Linked DNA regions of Homo sapiens: region 2 is linked to region 1. The links are contacts of gene promoters, found by promoter capture Hi-C in human tissues and cell types (Jung and others, 2019). All regions are on one chromosome and are shown on one strand. The core of a region is centred on a gene start or on the middle of the fragment in contact, and the rest is flanking DNA. Distances in the headings are between cores, read along the strand shown. Region 1 holds the start of KIF21B (kinesin family member 21B). Region 2 overlaps KIF14 (kinesin family member 14).

Region 1 (7,869 bases), core at 1,789-4,288:
GAGCCCAGGCCTTCACTGAAGCGTTTCACAGCCAGCCAGCTTCGATCTCTTCATCCCAAACAGATTGCAGGGCCAAGAGCCTTAGGCCTGGCACTTCTCACCTAGTCTAATAGCCCTGGGACCTCTCTCCTCTACACACACACACACACACACACACACACACACACAATCAGACCACACCTGTCTCATTCCTGGCCTTCCCTGTCTGAAGAGCTGGACTCCAGGCTCGCTATGTTATTCTCATGGAAATTCAGAAGGCACTTCAGTTGGATTCAAGAAAGGACTTCCAGAAAGTCAGAAAGACAGCTGAACCTGGCAGGAGGTAGTGAGCCCTGGGGCTGGACTAGGCCCTGGACAAGCCTTGCCCTTCCCATAAATGGTCTACTGTAGTGCAGCCCACCACCCAGTCTTTCAGGTGAGAGAAGTGATTTCTGGGGGTGCTGCGGGGGAGGATGGGTAGAAGAGGATCTAAAAACAAGGAAAACTCCCCCTACAGCCCATCACTGGTACCATCTGCTCTCCTTCCCAGCCCAGCCCAGCCCCAGCTCAGTCCTAAGCTCTCTGATTAGAAACTGGGTTCTGTCCAGGCATTGTCTGCTGTACACGGCCGGCTGCCCATTGAGGTCTGGCGTGTGCCGGGGCTGGGCGCTCATGCTGGGGTGGGAGGGGAGGAGTGGGCGGGGCCCTTACCTTCCCGGAGACCCTGAAAGCCTGACTTCTGATGCTCAAATGCCCCACCCCCAATCCAGATCAGCAACTGAAAGGCAAGGCGTGGGGGCACCCAGACCCCACTTAGGGCAATCTGACTGGGAACCAGAGATGACACACATGGTCCTGAACTGGGTGCAGAGGGCAGGCATGATCCCTTCTCTGCAGAAAGGGTCCCGGGAAGCTTCTAGAGGTGGCAGTGGGAAGAGAACATCAGCTTCTCCTCACTGTGCCAATCCCATGAGGCTCCCCGGGTGGGAGTCCCACATCTTTTCAGCCCCAGTCCAGCCTGGAGACCTGAACAGAGGTAGGGGGCCTTTGTTTAGCTCTCTCCAGCAAGATGGAATCTAAAGGAAACCCCCTGTGGAAAGGGCACCCCCAAGCCCCTTCCTTCCCAGCCCTCATTCACAATGGGTGGGGGCCAGAGCTTCATTTCCCTTTTATGGTGTTCTCGGACTCTCCCAATCTGCTGCAGATGCCATATTTACATTTCTCACTCCCACCCCCCAGCCATGCACCCCTCCCTCGACCTCCACAAGATCCTGCTGCAATGTCAGCCCCAGCAGCAGCCTGGCCCCGCCCCAGTCAGCCCACCAGGCACCTGCAGGGCTCCTCTTTGTCTCTGGCTGCTCAGGGCCAGGAAAGCTGTGCTCAAGTGATTCTTGAGTGCTGCCTAGGGTGCATGGGTGGGGGTGCCTCAATCTCCTTCCCTTCACCCAAGCACTGATCAGTGTCAGCTCCTCTTTGGGCTGCAGAGGCCTGGCCAGGTGGCCGTGGCAAGGGGCATCTGCCCTGGGGCAGGAAGAAGAAAGCTTTTTCATTGCCATCTCTGACTCTGTCTAGGAGCAACCTCCTAGGACCCCTGGAATCTGGGTCACATATGACCCAAGGGATCTAGAGACCTGAGAGACCTACCCTAGACCTGGACAATCCCCCGCCCCCTCCATCATACAGGGCTGGGGCAGAGATAGATGTTCTTGCCACATCCCTACCTTGGTGAGCAGCTCCAGATTGGCACTCTGCCGCCAAGACACCCCTCTCAAAGAGAAAAACCCAAAGCAAAAACTGGGAGAAGTGGTGAGGTGTGAAGCATCTCCACCCAGCACAAAGAACACAGATGGCTCAATTTCACAGCATTTCCTGCTCCTGCACCTTTGTGTACCCCTCCCAATAGAACCCACCCAGCCATGTCCTCTCCCTGTCTCATTTCTGCCGGCTCAAGTCCCGGAGCTGTTGAGAATGGAACCCCAGATAAGTCTAGGCAACCCTCCCCTGCTCAATTTTATCTGAGTGCCTGAGGATGGGGCATCTGCATCACACCCTCCTGCCCTCTCAGAGAGAAGCACCTCAGATACACCTCTTCCTCCCTTCCTAGGCCCATCTCCTCTTGGGACAGGACTGGTAGGATTCTCCCCCAAAGCCATTGACTTCCCACAGAAGGCCAAGGCATCATCCCAGCTTTTCCGTTGGTCCCCGCACCCGATCTTTGTCTGCAGATCTGGCTCCCAGGGTGGGTGTGCTGCCTTTGCTAGCTGGACCAAGAGCACATAACTAGCTGACTCGCATGGATGAGGGGAAATTTCCCTCTCTGGTATCCCCGTATGAGACAGCAGCCTCGTGGGGAGGCGAAGAGGAAACGCACAGACGCTCCGGCCTGGGCCAGAGCTGGGTGTGAAATACCGGATTTCCTTGTTTATTCGATTTTCTGATCATTAAGGGCTCCCAAGAGGGGCCCAAAATTACCACCCAAACAAAGCCACCTTCCAGTAGTCGGCGGGGTCGCCGCTCCCCTGCGGCAGACTGGCCAGCGCGCGGCGCCCTCCATCCCGTCCCACGCCGGCCCCTCCTCCGGGAGTGCAGGCTCCAGCCCAAGCGGTGCTCGCGCCCCCCGCCCAAAGCCCACGCGAGACAAAGCCCGAGGCTTCTCCGCGCGCCCCCTTCCCCGCCCCGGGTCCCTACCTGACGGCCACCTTGACGCAGCAGTCCCCCTGGCCGGCCATGGCCCTCTGGAGCTAGGGTCTGGGCGTGGATCAGAGGCGGGGGTCTGGGGGCCAATGCCCGAGGCAGCGGCTGCGGCTGCGGGAGGCGGGGGCGCGGGCGCGGCTGGCGGAGGCTGCGGCGGCGGCGGCTGGAGGTGACATGCTCGCGGGCGGCAGGCCGAGGGGCTCACCCGCGGCCGGCCCCCCGGGGCTGGGCCCGCGCGCCTCCTCGCGCCATCGGGCGGCGGCGCGGAGCTAGCTGACAGCCGGCGGCGCGACCCGCCGCTCCCTACGGCGCGGCACACGCGCACACACCTCCCACCCGGCAGCCACCTCCCGCCGCAGCGCGAACAAAGGGGGCGGGGGCCGATCCGGCCCCGAGCCCGCCCCGAGCCAGCCCCGAGCCCAGGCCGGGCCCCGCCCCGCCCAGGAGCCGCCAATCGAAAGCCCTAATGAGCAGTGGGGGCGGGACTCGCGCCTTTAAAGGGACCTCTTGGCTCGCGGCCACGGGGTGGCTGGGGGTAGGGGGCGGGATTGAAGGGTGGGGGTGGGGGTAGGGGTGGGAGTAGGGGTGGGGGCGCTGGACGCAGACCACGTTAGAACCTCGGCTCCTGGAGTAGCAGAACCTCGGCTTCAATGGGACCCTCATTTCATAAATGAAGAAACTGAGATTCAAAGAGGGGAACTACCGAAGGTTACAGAGCGAGTTCGTGGGTAAGCATGGTAAGAACCCTGGTCTCCCGGGGATCCCACAGCGATTGACGGTTTATAGTTCAAAAGAGCCAGGAAAGCTTCCCTTCTGCATTTATTCCAGTAAATTCGCCAACCCTTCTCGAAGGGAGTTCTTGCTAGCCCCTAACTAAAATTTCCCCCACCTCCACCCTGCAGCATCTTAAAGCTCATGTTTTAGTTGATTCCTGGCCAGGCTCCTAGCCCAAGACTAGCCCCTCCCTACTGCTAGACGACTGTCCCATTGACCTTTATGACCCACAGATGACCCCACTGGGCCTGGCTCACACTCTGCTTGTTGTGGCTGTGGGGCCAGAGGGTCAGTGTGGGAGGCCTGAGCTGCCCTGGGGGAAAGGAGGGAACAAAGGGGGCCCTCAGTTCCGAGCACCTGGGTAGAGAGGCTGGGCGGTGAAGTGGGTGGGGAAGGGAAGGAGGGCAGCTGCCTGCAGGAATGGGTATAAAGGACAAGGAGGACCATGGAGACTTTAACGCTGGGCCTGGATGGAGGAGGAGACCAGTGCTGCAAAGTCACAATTCCCTTCCCAGTCCATCTCCCTCCCTCTGAGCCCAGACGCCTCTTCCCTGCCCCCTGCCTCCCAACATTGGGGCCATTCACAGGGCCCCTCACCAGCTGCCCTCACTTCACCCAGCTCCCTCCCCTGGAAAGGGCCCAAGAGGAGGACCCAGCTGCAGCCCCAGATGTGGATGGGGATCTCTGGGGGAGGGGAGGAAGGGGAGTCTGACTCCAGGCCTCTTACATTACCCTCAGATGATGAAACCATGTCAGAGATTTTGGCAAGGGTGTGGACTGGGGTCTGAGGATGCATCTGTTGGTACCATCTTCCTCCCCTTCCCTCCTCCACTCACACCCCCCTCCCCGCCAATAACTGCTTCATGCAGTAGCTCAGATCCCTGTTTGGCTTGACCTATTAAGGTCAAATCAAAACCAAAGATAATTTCAAGGGCAAATTTCAAGGGCCAATCAACACATCCTTTTCATCCCCATGGCAAACAGGAGGAGCACCGCCAGCAGTGCCCCCATGATGGGGGCTGGAGAAGAGGTCTTGGTGGTATCCTGGACCTTTTATTAGCATTTGAATCTAGAGGAAGCTCTCCCTGGGGCCAGGGGATCACCTCTCCTGGACCAGGAGGTTAGCAGAATGTTGCAGTCATATCCTGCAACATTCCTCCCCATCTTCCAACCAAAATAATTCGTGGGGAGGAGACTAACACATATGGACCACCTACACAAGGTATTTTATGCACATATTCTCATTTTTTCCCTATAACCTTGTAAGCTAGGCTTTTTTATTCTTTTTAAATTTTGCAGATGGGGAAACTGAGCCTCACATGTATGAATTCCAGCATATAAGCAACAGACTCCAGATTTGGACATGTATATCTTATTCCAGGCTTCCCAGATGACCACCAAGGTGGAAGGGATGATGATGTCCAGGCAGAAGGGAGCTAGGCCGGCCCAGGCTTTTCCTCTAGGCACAGCGGACTCCAGGTTCAGCCTTCCCGGATGGTAATGTTGCATTCTGAAGAGCTACTTTCCCGCCAACTCATCTCTGGACTTCTCTGGGGCCCAACTCTGGTTTCCTGCCTGCAGGAGGTCCCCTCTGACTTCCGACAGTAGATGACCCTTCTGACTCACAGTTCTACTGCTGGGAAATGCCTCCAGAGCTGCTGCCCACCCTCTCTGCATCCCTCCAGGTCACTGGGTGTTGAGTCAGGGGAAGCAGGGATACACACGGGCGGGAAACTCAGGTCTCCTAAATGTCAGAGCCTCAGGACTTCGGCTACTCAGAAGTAGCTCCCTCCTGGGCCACCAGGGAGCAGCAGGGCAGCCAGCATCCAGACATCCCCCCTGGGTTCTGCTGCTCAGAGGCTAGATGGAGAACCAAGGTGGGAAAAAGGCTTAAACCACAGCGTGGGGAGATTTAGGTTAGATGGGTCAGAGGAAGTTTAGGACAAGCCTTGCCCTTTTCAGTTTCTGTCCAGCTTCAGCACAGCCACTGCTTCCTCTCTTTGGTTTTTACCCATCCCCCTCTCTCCCATCACCTCTATCCCCTTCCAGCTTTCCTTTCCTTCCCTCCTTCCCAAACCCCAGAGTTTCTCAGGATTAGCTGCCCGTGTGCCTATCTCCCCCACCCCCATGCTTTCCTCACTGTCTCACAGAAACAGGCAAACACACACACATGCATACAACCATGAGCTGGCCCTGAGAGTTCTCTGACTGGACTGGGGTTGGAGCCCCAGCTCTTGTCCTGAGCTGAGGCCCTTCCCCCAGGTATCTTGGGGCTTCCATCATTTCTCTTGACAGGAGCTGTGGGCGTCTGGGCAGATGGGAACCTGGGGGAGGTGTGGGGAGCCCTCTCTGAGGCAGGAAGCTCCCACGCTACTGTAGTTAAAATAATCCGGCAGCAACTTGGGGCAGCCATCTGGGATGCCCAGATCTTCCAGGACACCCAGCTCTCAACAACAACCCTATAGGAACAAATCAAAAACCTAAGAGATACTTATAGGCCCTGGAAATGTCTCCCAAAAGTGGCCTGAACTTGAGCCCTGTTTCCTTTTATCTTCTTCAGGTTAGCACTGGGCATTGGCATTTGCAAAAAAACTCTAAGCATTAAGCAAAACTTGTAGGAGTGGAAGATACAGCGTTCTGGACCTCCAGTCCTAATACCCAGCCACACCCCAGCAGCTATGCATGGTTCCATGGGAGAGCAGGCATAGCCCATCCTGCTGGCATATAGTCCAGCCATATCTTCCAATGCCCACCTGGAGACTAAGCCGAGTTCTGCCCAGCAACAGGAGCTCAGAGCTCCAGAGAGCCTCTCCTGGGGTGCAGACTCAGGAGATCTTAGCTCAGGAGCAGACTTAGCCTGACTTCCTCTTTTATAGGAGGAGACAGACTTAGTTACAGAGGAAACCAGAGTTGTTATAAATAGCAAGGAAGGGAGAAACCTGCTATGGATTACAAACACGCCATCAATCTTAAAACAAACTATTTTTAGTTTCAAATAATAACGAGAGTCTAATTAATGCTCTGTATAACTTCAAATGTGGGATCTTTATCTGCCTTTCTACTTTGTGATGCTTTCTAATACAGTATTAGGGCCAAAGGCAGGAAGAGATGTGGGCAATTCTCAATGTTACCAAATCCTAGATATGGAAAGAACCTGAGAAATTTAGTCCAGCCCTTTCATTTTCAGTGAAGAAACTCAGGCCCAGAGAGGTAAAAGGACTTGTCCAAAGTTGCATAGTAAGGTAGGGACTGAGCAGTGACTAAAAGCCTAGTCCCTGTACTCCAGAAGCAGGACAGTTTCCACAGCAGCACAATAGAACCCAAAGGCTAAACATCTGTGGTTGGGCAGTTGGTGAGTTTATAGCCTGGATAAAAGTCAGGTCTAAGCCAGGTGTGGAGGCTCACGCCTGTAATCCCAGCACTTTGGGAGGCTAAGGCAGGTGAATCACTTGAGGCCAGGAGTTTGAGACCAACCTGGCCAACATGGCAAAACCTCATCTCTACTAAAAAGTACAAAAATTAGCCAGATGTGACGGCACATGCCTGTAATCCCAGCTACTCAGGAGGCTGAGGCACGAGAATCGGTTGAACCCGGGAGGTGGAGATTTCAGTGAGCCGAGATCGCACTACTGCACTTCAACCTGGGGGACAAAGCAAGACTCTGTCTCAAAAAAAAAAAAAAAAAAAAAAAAATTCTGAATGAAATAGCAAAAGACAGCCCAGAAGCTGAAGTGTGGTCTTCTGAGTCACCGAGTTTTGGGTTCACATCCCAGCTCTGCAACTGACTAGCTTTGTAACCCTGGGCCTGTGTGTAACTACTCCAAGCATCAGCTCCCACATCTCAAAATGAGAATAATCACACTCACTTCATTACAGGACTATTATGAGGTTTAAATGAGGTAACGTGGGTCAAGCATCCAGCACAGTGCTCAGCAAAAAATAGATGTTAATTTCCTTCCCATTTCCCTCGGATTCTCTACCCCTTCTTCAATGGATTCTTATCCTCTAACTGGACAGAAGGGCAGATTTGTCATAAAGCAGTCACGTGAGGGATAAGAAGTCTCACATGAGTGTGAATGAGGCTGGGGGTGGGGGCGTAGTTTATGGCAATGAAGTTTGCATGGCACAAGTGGTCAGTGTCAGATCCAGAGGGCGGGAGAAGACAGATTTGCAGAAAATTATCCATCCTCTGCTAACCACTCAGTGACGGGCCTCGGGGTTCAGGGTCAGTGTTTACAGGGGAGGAGGGAGGCTGGGCATGCTGGGTCCTCATTGTACACAAATACCCCGGGCCTCAACCTCACCCATGTGCCACACTGTGCCAAGGGTGTTACATAACATTTCTCTTTTAATCCTCACAACAATCTATGAGGCAAATACTGTTCTCGTCCCCATTTTGCAGAAGAGGAAATGAGCTCAAAG
Region 2 (7,869 bases), core at 2,141-4,640, 470 kb before region 1:
GTGAGCTGAGATCATGCCACTGCACTCCACCCTGGGTGACAGAGTGAGACTCTGTCTCAAAAAAAAAAAAAAGAAAGAAAAAAAGAAATTAGGGGGCCCTTGTACACTGTTGGTGGGAATGTAAACTGGTATAGCCATTATAGAAAAAGGTATGGAGATTCCTCAAAAACTAAAAATAGAACTACCATATGACTGAGCCATCCCTCTTCTGGGTATATACCCAGAGAAAATGAAATTAGCACCCTGTAGAGATAGCTGCATTCCCATGTTCATTGCAGCAATATTCACAATAGCTAAGATCTGGAAACGACCTAACTGTCCATCTGTCCATTGATGGATGAATGGATAAAGAAAATGTTACACACACACACACACGTACGCACACACACACACGTACACACACACACACAAACAGGAATATTCTGCCTTAAAAAAGGAAATTTTGCCACTTGTCACAACGTGGAGGAAGCTTGAGGAAGTTGTGCTAAGTGAAATAGCAGACACAGGAAGACAAATACTGTATGATCTCACTTGTGTGAGGATTCTTAAAAAGTCAAATTCATAGAAGCAGAGAGGTGAAGGCTGTTTGCCAGGGGTTGGGGGTAGGGTGAGGAGAATGGAGAGATGCTGATCAAATTATACAAACTTTCATTTATCAGAAGAATGAATTCTGGGAGTCTAATGTATAGCAAGGTGTATAATAATACTGTATATAGTAGGCCAGGCGCGGTGGCTCATGCCTGTAATCCCAGCACTTTGGGAGGCCGAGGAAGGCGGATCACGAGGTCAGGAGTTCGAGACCAGCCTGATCAACATGGTAAAACCCTGTCTCTACTAAAAAATACAAAAATTATCCGGGAATTGTGGTGGGCACCTGTAATCTCAGCTACTCAGGAGGCTGAGGCAGGAGAATCACTTGAACCCAGGAAGTGGAGATTGCAGTGAGCCGAGGTCCTGCCCCTCCACTCCAGCCTGGGTGACAGAGTGAGGCTCCATCTAAAAAATAAATTAAAAAAAAAATAATGCTGTATAGTATACTTGAAATTTGCTAAGAGTAAATTTTAGGTGTCCTTACCCCCTACACGCACATTCACAAATAGTAACTACATATGGTGATATGGTGATGAATGTGTTGATTGTAGTAATGATTTCACAATGTGTTTGTATATCAAACCATCACATTGCACACCTTGAATATACACAATTTATTTGTTAATTACACCTCAATAAAACTGGGGAAAAAGCTTTATTTTTTTTTTTTTGAGACGGAGTTTTGCTCTTGTCACCCAGGCTGTAGTGCAATGGTGCCATCTCGGCTCACCACAACCTCTACCTCCCAAGTTCAAGTGATTCTCCTGCCTCAGCCTTCCGAGTAGCTGAGATTACAGGCATGTGCCACCACGCCCGGCTAATTTTGTATTTTTAGTAGAGATGGGGTTTCACCATATTGATCAGGCTGGTCTTGAACTCCCGACCTCAGTTGATCTGCCTACCTCGGCCTCCCAAAGTGCTGGGATTACAGGCATGAGCCATCATGCCTGCTCTTTTTTTGTTTGTTTTTTAAATAAAGACCAGGTCTCATTATGTGGGCCAGGCTGGTCTCGAATGCCTGGGCTCAAGTGATCCTCCCATCTTGGCCTCCAGAAGTGCTGGGATTATAGGTGTGAGCCACCGTGCTTGGCCCGTAAACACACACACACACACACACACACACACACACACACACATATATATATATATATATATTTTTTTTTTTTTTTGAGACAGAGTCTTGCTCTGTCGCCAGGCTGGAGTGCCATGGTGCAATCTCGGCTCACTGCAACCTCTGCCTACCGGGTTCAAGTGATTCTCCTGCCTCAGCCTCCCGAGTAGCTGTGACTACAGGCGAAGCTAATTTTTGTGTTTTTTGGTAGAGTCAGGGTTTCACCATGTTGGCCAGGATGGTCTAGATCTCTTAGCCTCGTGATCCATCCATCTCAGCCTCCCAAAGTGCTGGGGTTATAGACGTGAGCCACCATTTTAAAAAGAGGGGGATGTAGGGCCATAGAAAGCGATATCCATTTTCCAAATTTCAGAGATTCTCCATCTTCTTAGTGGACAGCACAATCTGCTCTTCGTGAAAATGAGGCCCCCTAATGGGCAGATGCTCGCTCTTTAGACAAATTCAGAGGTTTTCACTGAATATTAGCCAGAGAAACGAAAGCCTGTGACTTACCACAAAATCGCTCTTAAATTCTTTTTTTTTTTTTTTTTTTGAGATGGAGTTTCACTCTTGTCGCCCAGGCTGGAGTGCAATGTGGCCATCTCAGCTCACTGCAACCTCCGCCTCCCGGGTTCAAGCGATTCTCTTGCCTACGCCTCCTGAGTAGCTGGGATTACAGGCGCGTGCCACCACGCTTGGTTAATTTTTGTATTTTTAGTAGAGACGGGGTTTCACCTTGTTGGTCAGGCTTGTCTCGAATTTCTGACCTCAGGTGATCCACCCACCCCCGGCCTCCTAAAGCGCTGGGATTACAGGCGTGAGCCACCGTGCTCGGCTAAATTCTTTAAAAAACCTATGATTCTCTGAGTTTAGGACCATTCAGCAACAGGAAATATGCAGTTTCCAGTTGCCATTTGCTTAATCAAAAGTTTACCCCTGAATTCTGTCTTGAATAAGTCAGCGATTCTCTGGTGGTTCTCCTGTATGTTCGAGTGTAGTGTGTGTTTTTTGTTTGGTTTTTTGTTTGTTTGACAGTCTCCCTTGGTCTCCCAGGCTGGAGTGCAGTGGCGCAATCTTGGCTCACTGCAACCTCTGCCTCCCAGGTTCAAGCAATTCTCATGCCTCAGCCTCCCGAATAGCTGGGATTATAGGCATGCACTGCCATGCCTGTTTATTATTGTTTTTTTTAGACAGAGTCTCGCTCTATCACCCAGGCTGGAGTACAGTGGCGTGATCTAGGCTCACTGCAACCTCTACCTCCTGGGTTCAAGCCATTCTCCTGCCTCAGCCTCCTGTGTAGCTAGGATTACAGGCGTGCCATGCGCCACCATGCCGGCTAACTTTTGTGTTTTTAATAGTGTTGGGGTTTCACCACGTTGGCCGGGCTGGTCTCAAATTCCTGGCCTCAAGTGATTCACCCTCCTCAGCCTCCCAAAGTGTTGGGATTACAGGCATAAGCCACTGCACCCGACTTGAGTTTAGTGTGTTTAGAGGTCTTTGGCATCGAGAAAATATAATGTTATGAACAACTGGGATCCAACAAGTTGGGCCTTTCAAAAGTCCATGAGGCAATCTAATCTTTTTCAGGTTGCTATGGCTTAACACCAACAGCATACCTAGCATTAAGTAAATAATTATTAGAATGAATGAATGAACCTAGCTATCAGATACTAAAACAAACTAAATGGCCATGCTCCACATCTAAAAATCCCATAAACTAATATTGGCTAAAGGAAGAAAGATGGAAAAGCTCAGTCTTGATTATATCATGCAATGACTGTAACTTGCAAAATCCAGAGCACAAACTTACCTGATGAATCATGCACAGGAAGCTGGGCACATAAGCTTTTTTTTAACTGAACCAAACTACTGATACCTTTTCCCCTCACCTGTGATTAATTCTTACTTTCCATATTTAGGGAAAACCTTGAAATGCTTATTGGCACATAGTTAGGCTCTGTAAACTCAAGTATGCTAGTTAGCTAACTAGACAAAACAGCCTTTTGCTAAAACTTTCAGATGGACTGACTCCATGGAGGACACATAGCACATTATACCTTAAGAGCAGTAAGATAATGTTTAGTTATCTTTATTGTCCATTTATTATCATGGAACAAAATGACGGCAGATATATTTTCAGGTATGCCATAAAGGACTGCAATACAATTTGGCACATTGGCAGAATGTTATAAATGGCATATGCCTGCACCAAGTGTGATCTTATATACATAACAAGGGTTTTGTAGCTGGTAATGAAAAGGACAGAAAATAAATTCACTAACAGTCTACTACTTGCCAGCAGTTATTCCCACATTTTTCTCACTAAGTGCTCATAGATAGATAGTCCATGAGGTGGGTATTACTTTTCTTTCTGCAGATGAAGGAATGGGAGTGAAGACAGTAACATGTCTAAGGTCATGTAGTTACTAAGCAGTCCAGCTGGGATTCACACTCCAAACGTGTGAAAAATATGTCAAACTCCAAAGCTCATGCTCTTTACACATACCACATGGTGATAAATCTATTCCAGGCATAATCAACTAAAGAGAGGCAGAACAATGTTAAAAAAAAATAGTTGTTATGGCAATATTAATATTTGTTTAGTGTTTCCTAATTATTAACTTGATTTGCAACACTAGCCTAGCTATTATCAAGGCAGAGCTATTCTGAATGAAGAGTAAAATAAACAAAGAAAATCAGTAAAATAAAAAAGCATAGACCACGAAGCAATTCTAATGCTGAAAAGATTTATTAAAGGCATTCTCTTTATAACATTTCTTGTCAGTGCACATAATTCCAATAGCAAATATTTTTTCACCATTCATTCAAATACAGTATCACAATGTGTTTAGTATAAATATGTATACAAAATTTTATAAAGACACTAAAAAGTTTCTGACCAATTAAGTCATGAGTTTACAAAGCACAAACTGAAGATTAAATACTGAATATTAAGATGAAAACTACTATACAGGTACTTTAGGAAGTTCTTCAAAGAAGTGCACCTCCCGGGAAATCCTCATATGTACATCTACACTCCAGCAAACTGCACAGGCAAAGTGCTACTTGCCAGATTATTGACTAATAAAAACACATATAGAGCTTCAGAAAGAATACAAGGTCAAATGCCAAAAATAAAAAAAGAAATGAAAGCAAATGTGCTACATTGTACCATTTTAAAGAGCTTGAAAACACCACACAAGGTTCACTAATACTGTTCTGACTGCAATGACTGTATTTACTTACAATCTCTTCCTAACAAGGAAACTATCAGATTTATTCATGGTACGAATGGCCAATTTCAACTAGTTATGCCAAATGTACAAGTAGTATCTGTAAATTCGAAAAGGGCAAATGAAAGGATCAGGTTATTTAAATGAATTCTTCTTTTTTTTTCTTCTTTTTTTTTAAATGAATTATTCTTTAGGAACTGCTCAATATCACCCAAGCATAGTTACAAAGTATCTCTTCAAATTATACATACTCTTGAGGTCAAAAACGTCAAACTATTTCCGTAATGTAAGATCCCACAAGTAGAATATTATCTTTATTACTTGATCATAAATAAAGGTTTTTTTTTAAAGCTGTGGAAAATAAGGGTCTTTAATCTTCATCAAATCATATACAAATTATTTCATTATACCTTTAACAAAACAAGCATTATCAAGAGAAGGTCCAGCCTCTGATCTCCTAATCTCATCCAACAGTTTAGTATAATTCTGGCAACATTTTATTAGTTTTAAATAATATTCATACAGCCCCCATTATGAAACACAGATAACAGGGTAAACTACTGTGCCAGCAAGCCATATTATTAATATATAATTATACTATATTTAGGTAGCTACTTATAATTTGGAAAGAAACAGGAAGCTACACCCTTGAACATACTATTCAAAATGGCAACCAGTTAACCCTTTGAGAAAAGAATTTTTGATTAACAATGCAAGTTAAGTTGTCTTAGTTAAACTTGTACAGGCCATTTCACCATAAACATCCCAGCTGTCTGAGGAGAGAGAAGGCATAGGCACAAAGGTAACTGATTGTTCAGGTTTCCACTCATGAGAAAATAACCCTTTATAAACGACTAATGAACCAACTACAGACAGTATACCAATGTTAAACACTTTAAAGATAAAAATATATTTTATTTATTTATTTATTTATTTATTTATTTATTTATTTATTTATTTTGACTAAGTCTCGTTCTGTTGCTCAGACTGGAGTAAAGTGGCATGATCTTGGCTCACTGCAACCTCTGCCTCTCAGGTTCAAGCGATCCTCCTGCCTCAGCCCCCCTAGTAGCTGGGATTACAGGCACGCGCCACCATGCCCAGCAAATTTTTGTATTTTTAGTAGAGACGGGGTTTCGCCATGTTGGCCAGGCCGGTCTCAAACTCCTGACCTTGTGATCTGCCCGCCTCCCAAAGTGCTGGGATTACAGGCGTGAGCCACTGTGTCTGGCCTTTGATAAATAGATATTTTAAAGATAAAAAGACATGGACTTTTTTGAAATATCTGTGCTGATTTCTCTTAAACTCTCCTGCATAAAGAAAATTACCGAGCAAGTGTTCTTTTTCTTTCATGGGTGGTCATAAAAGTGCCTACACATCAGTATTCACACCCACTGAATCCTACTGGGTGTGCATTCCTCTGAGCTCACTGCTGGGGATGAGCCATGGAGCTCATAGACACGCTTTGGTACACCTTTATTCTTACTGCCGTCAATCCCGCTTGATTTAGATTGTTGGTGTTCTTCTTTGGTATTTTGATTATAAGTTTCCCAGGGTTTCAACAAATCAGGGCTTTCTTCAGATTCAAAACAAAAGAGGAGAGACTTAGCTAGAGATTCTAGTTCCTGGTGGACAATGTGAGTTACTCTACTCTCATAGCTGCCAACAGAAGTAGAAGGCACACTGAAGTCACTGTAAAAATCACTGGCCAAGTTGCGAATACTTTCAACACAAGTCTGGAGAAGATTTATATCACTATGGCATCCTATATGCAAGAGAGGAGGGAAAAGTTAATTAGCCTTTTCAGTTTTCATCAGGTATTTATGACTTTTATAGACTCTAGATATCTTTTAAGTCAAAGTGACCCTATCAAAACAATTCCAAACTACTTAAGATTAGTCAACTAAAGTGTTTATTTGCTAGATGAGCACTTGGTTTTTCAGGATCTAATTATTTAGGTAGAAGTACTGATACATACATTAAGTGGGAATTTAATTATAAATACAAGTTCCTATATGGGTAACTAATATCAGTGAAGTAGCATTGGGTAGGCTTCAGTTAATGACTAAAATAATGAAAAGGTTAGAAATAAAAAGGAAAGATGTCAGCCGGGGACTGTGGCTCATGCCTGTAATCCCAGCACTTTGGGAGGCCAAGGTGGGTGAATTGTTTGAGGTCAGGAGTTCGAGACCAGCCTGGCCAACATGGTGAAACCCCATCTCTACTAAAAATACAAAAATTATCCAGGCATGGTGGCATATGCCTGTAATCCCAGCTACTTGGGAGGCTGAGGCAGGAGAATCGCTTGAACCCAGGAGTCGGAGGTTGCAGTGAGCTGAAATCGAGCCACTGCACTCCAGCCTGAGTGACAGAGCGAGACTCCATCTCAAAAAAAAAAAGGAAAGATGTCTAAGGTTCCTTAAAATATAAAATTCTGATTATAAACTCCATTTGGAGAATCATACCTTTCAGTGCAGAAATAATAATTTCAATAGCTTTCTCTAAGCAATGTTTTAACTTTAAGAATTCTGGAGCACGATTAACCATCCTCTTGAAATCTTGGTATTCAAAGTTTTCTTCTTGTACTTGCCTTCTGAAACTTTTCTGTATAAATAAAGTTAATATTTAAAATAATACATTAACAGGCTCAATGGCAGTAAGGCTCAGTCAATATGATTTTAATTGCCAGAATCTTCTCTTTAAGAAAGAGAGTTTAATTTCCTCACCAGTGCTTAACTCTATTTCTATAAGCAAGACCAAAATACAATAGTAATTACTGTTTTCAAAAGAAATCAGAATTTTCAATTAATTTTCAAAGTCTGTCATCCTATTACATGAGAATGGAATAAAGTAACAGTGCCATTTATTATTCAATACTTTAAAAGATACATTTATTTCATTTTTAAGAGCTCAACTTTATAATAGTTCTCATTT

What was found. The method cuts DNA at HindIII sites, captures the fragments that hold promoters and counts their contacts. A contact is called where the count stands out against the background at its distance.
Region 2: a fragment that was not itself captured here is called in contact with the fragment with the promoter of KIF21B in region 1 in 2 of the 25 tissues and cell types used here (IMR-90 fibroblasts and lymphoblastoid cells).

Annotation. Positions count from the first base shown.
Region 1 is chr1:201,020,676-201,028,544 of GRCh38, forward strand. It overlaps KIF21B (kinesin family member 21B), which reads right to left and starts at 3,039. Exons shown (of 35, transcript NM_001252102.2): 1 at 2,668-3,039. The coding sequence starts at 2,708. LOC101929305 (a long non-coding RNA gene) reads left to right here and starts at 3,274. Exons shown (of 4, transcript NR_188464.1): 1 at 3,274-3,410; 2 at 4,829-4,944. RefSeq lists silencers at 416-565, 2,446-2,495, 2,896-3,255, 3,607-3,764 and enhancers at 796-925, 1,234-1,841. The HindIII fragment of the contact is 6,719 bases long and covers 1,207-7,869 here.
Region 2 is chr1:200,547,068-200,554,936 of GRCh38, forward strand. KIF14 (kinesin family member 14) reads right to left here. Exons shown (of 30, transcript NM_014875.3): 29 at 7,401-7,539; 30 at 4,433-6,700. The coding sequence ends at 6,321. Among named protein-coding and RNA genes, the nearest start is that of KIF14, 70 kb to the right of the region's middle. The HindIII fragment of the contact is 5,068 bases long and covers 857-5,924 here.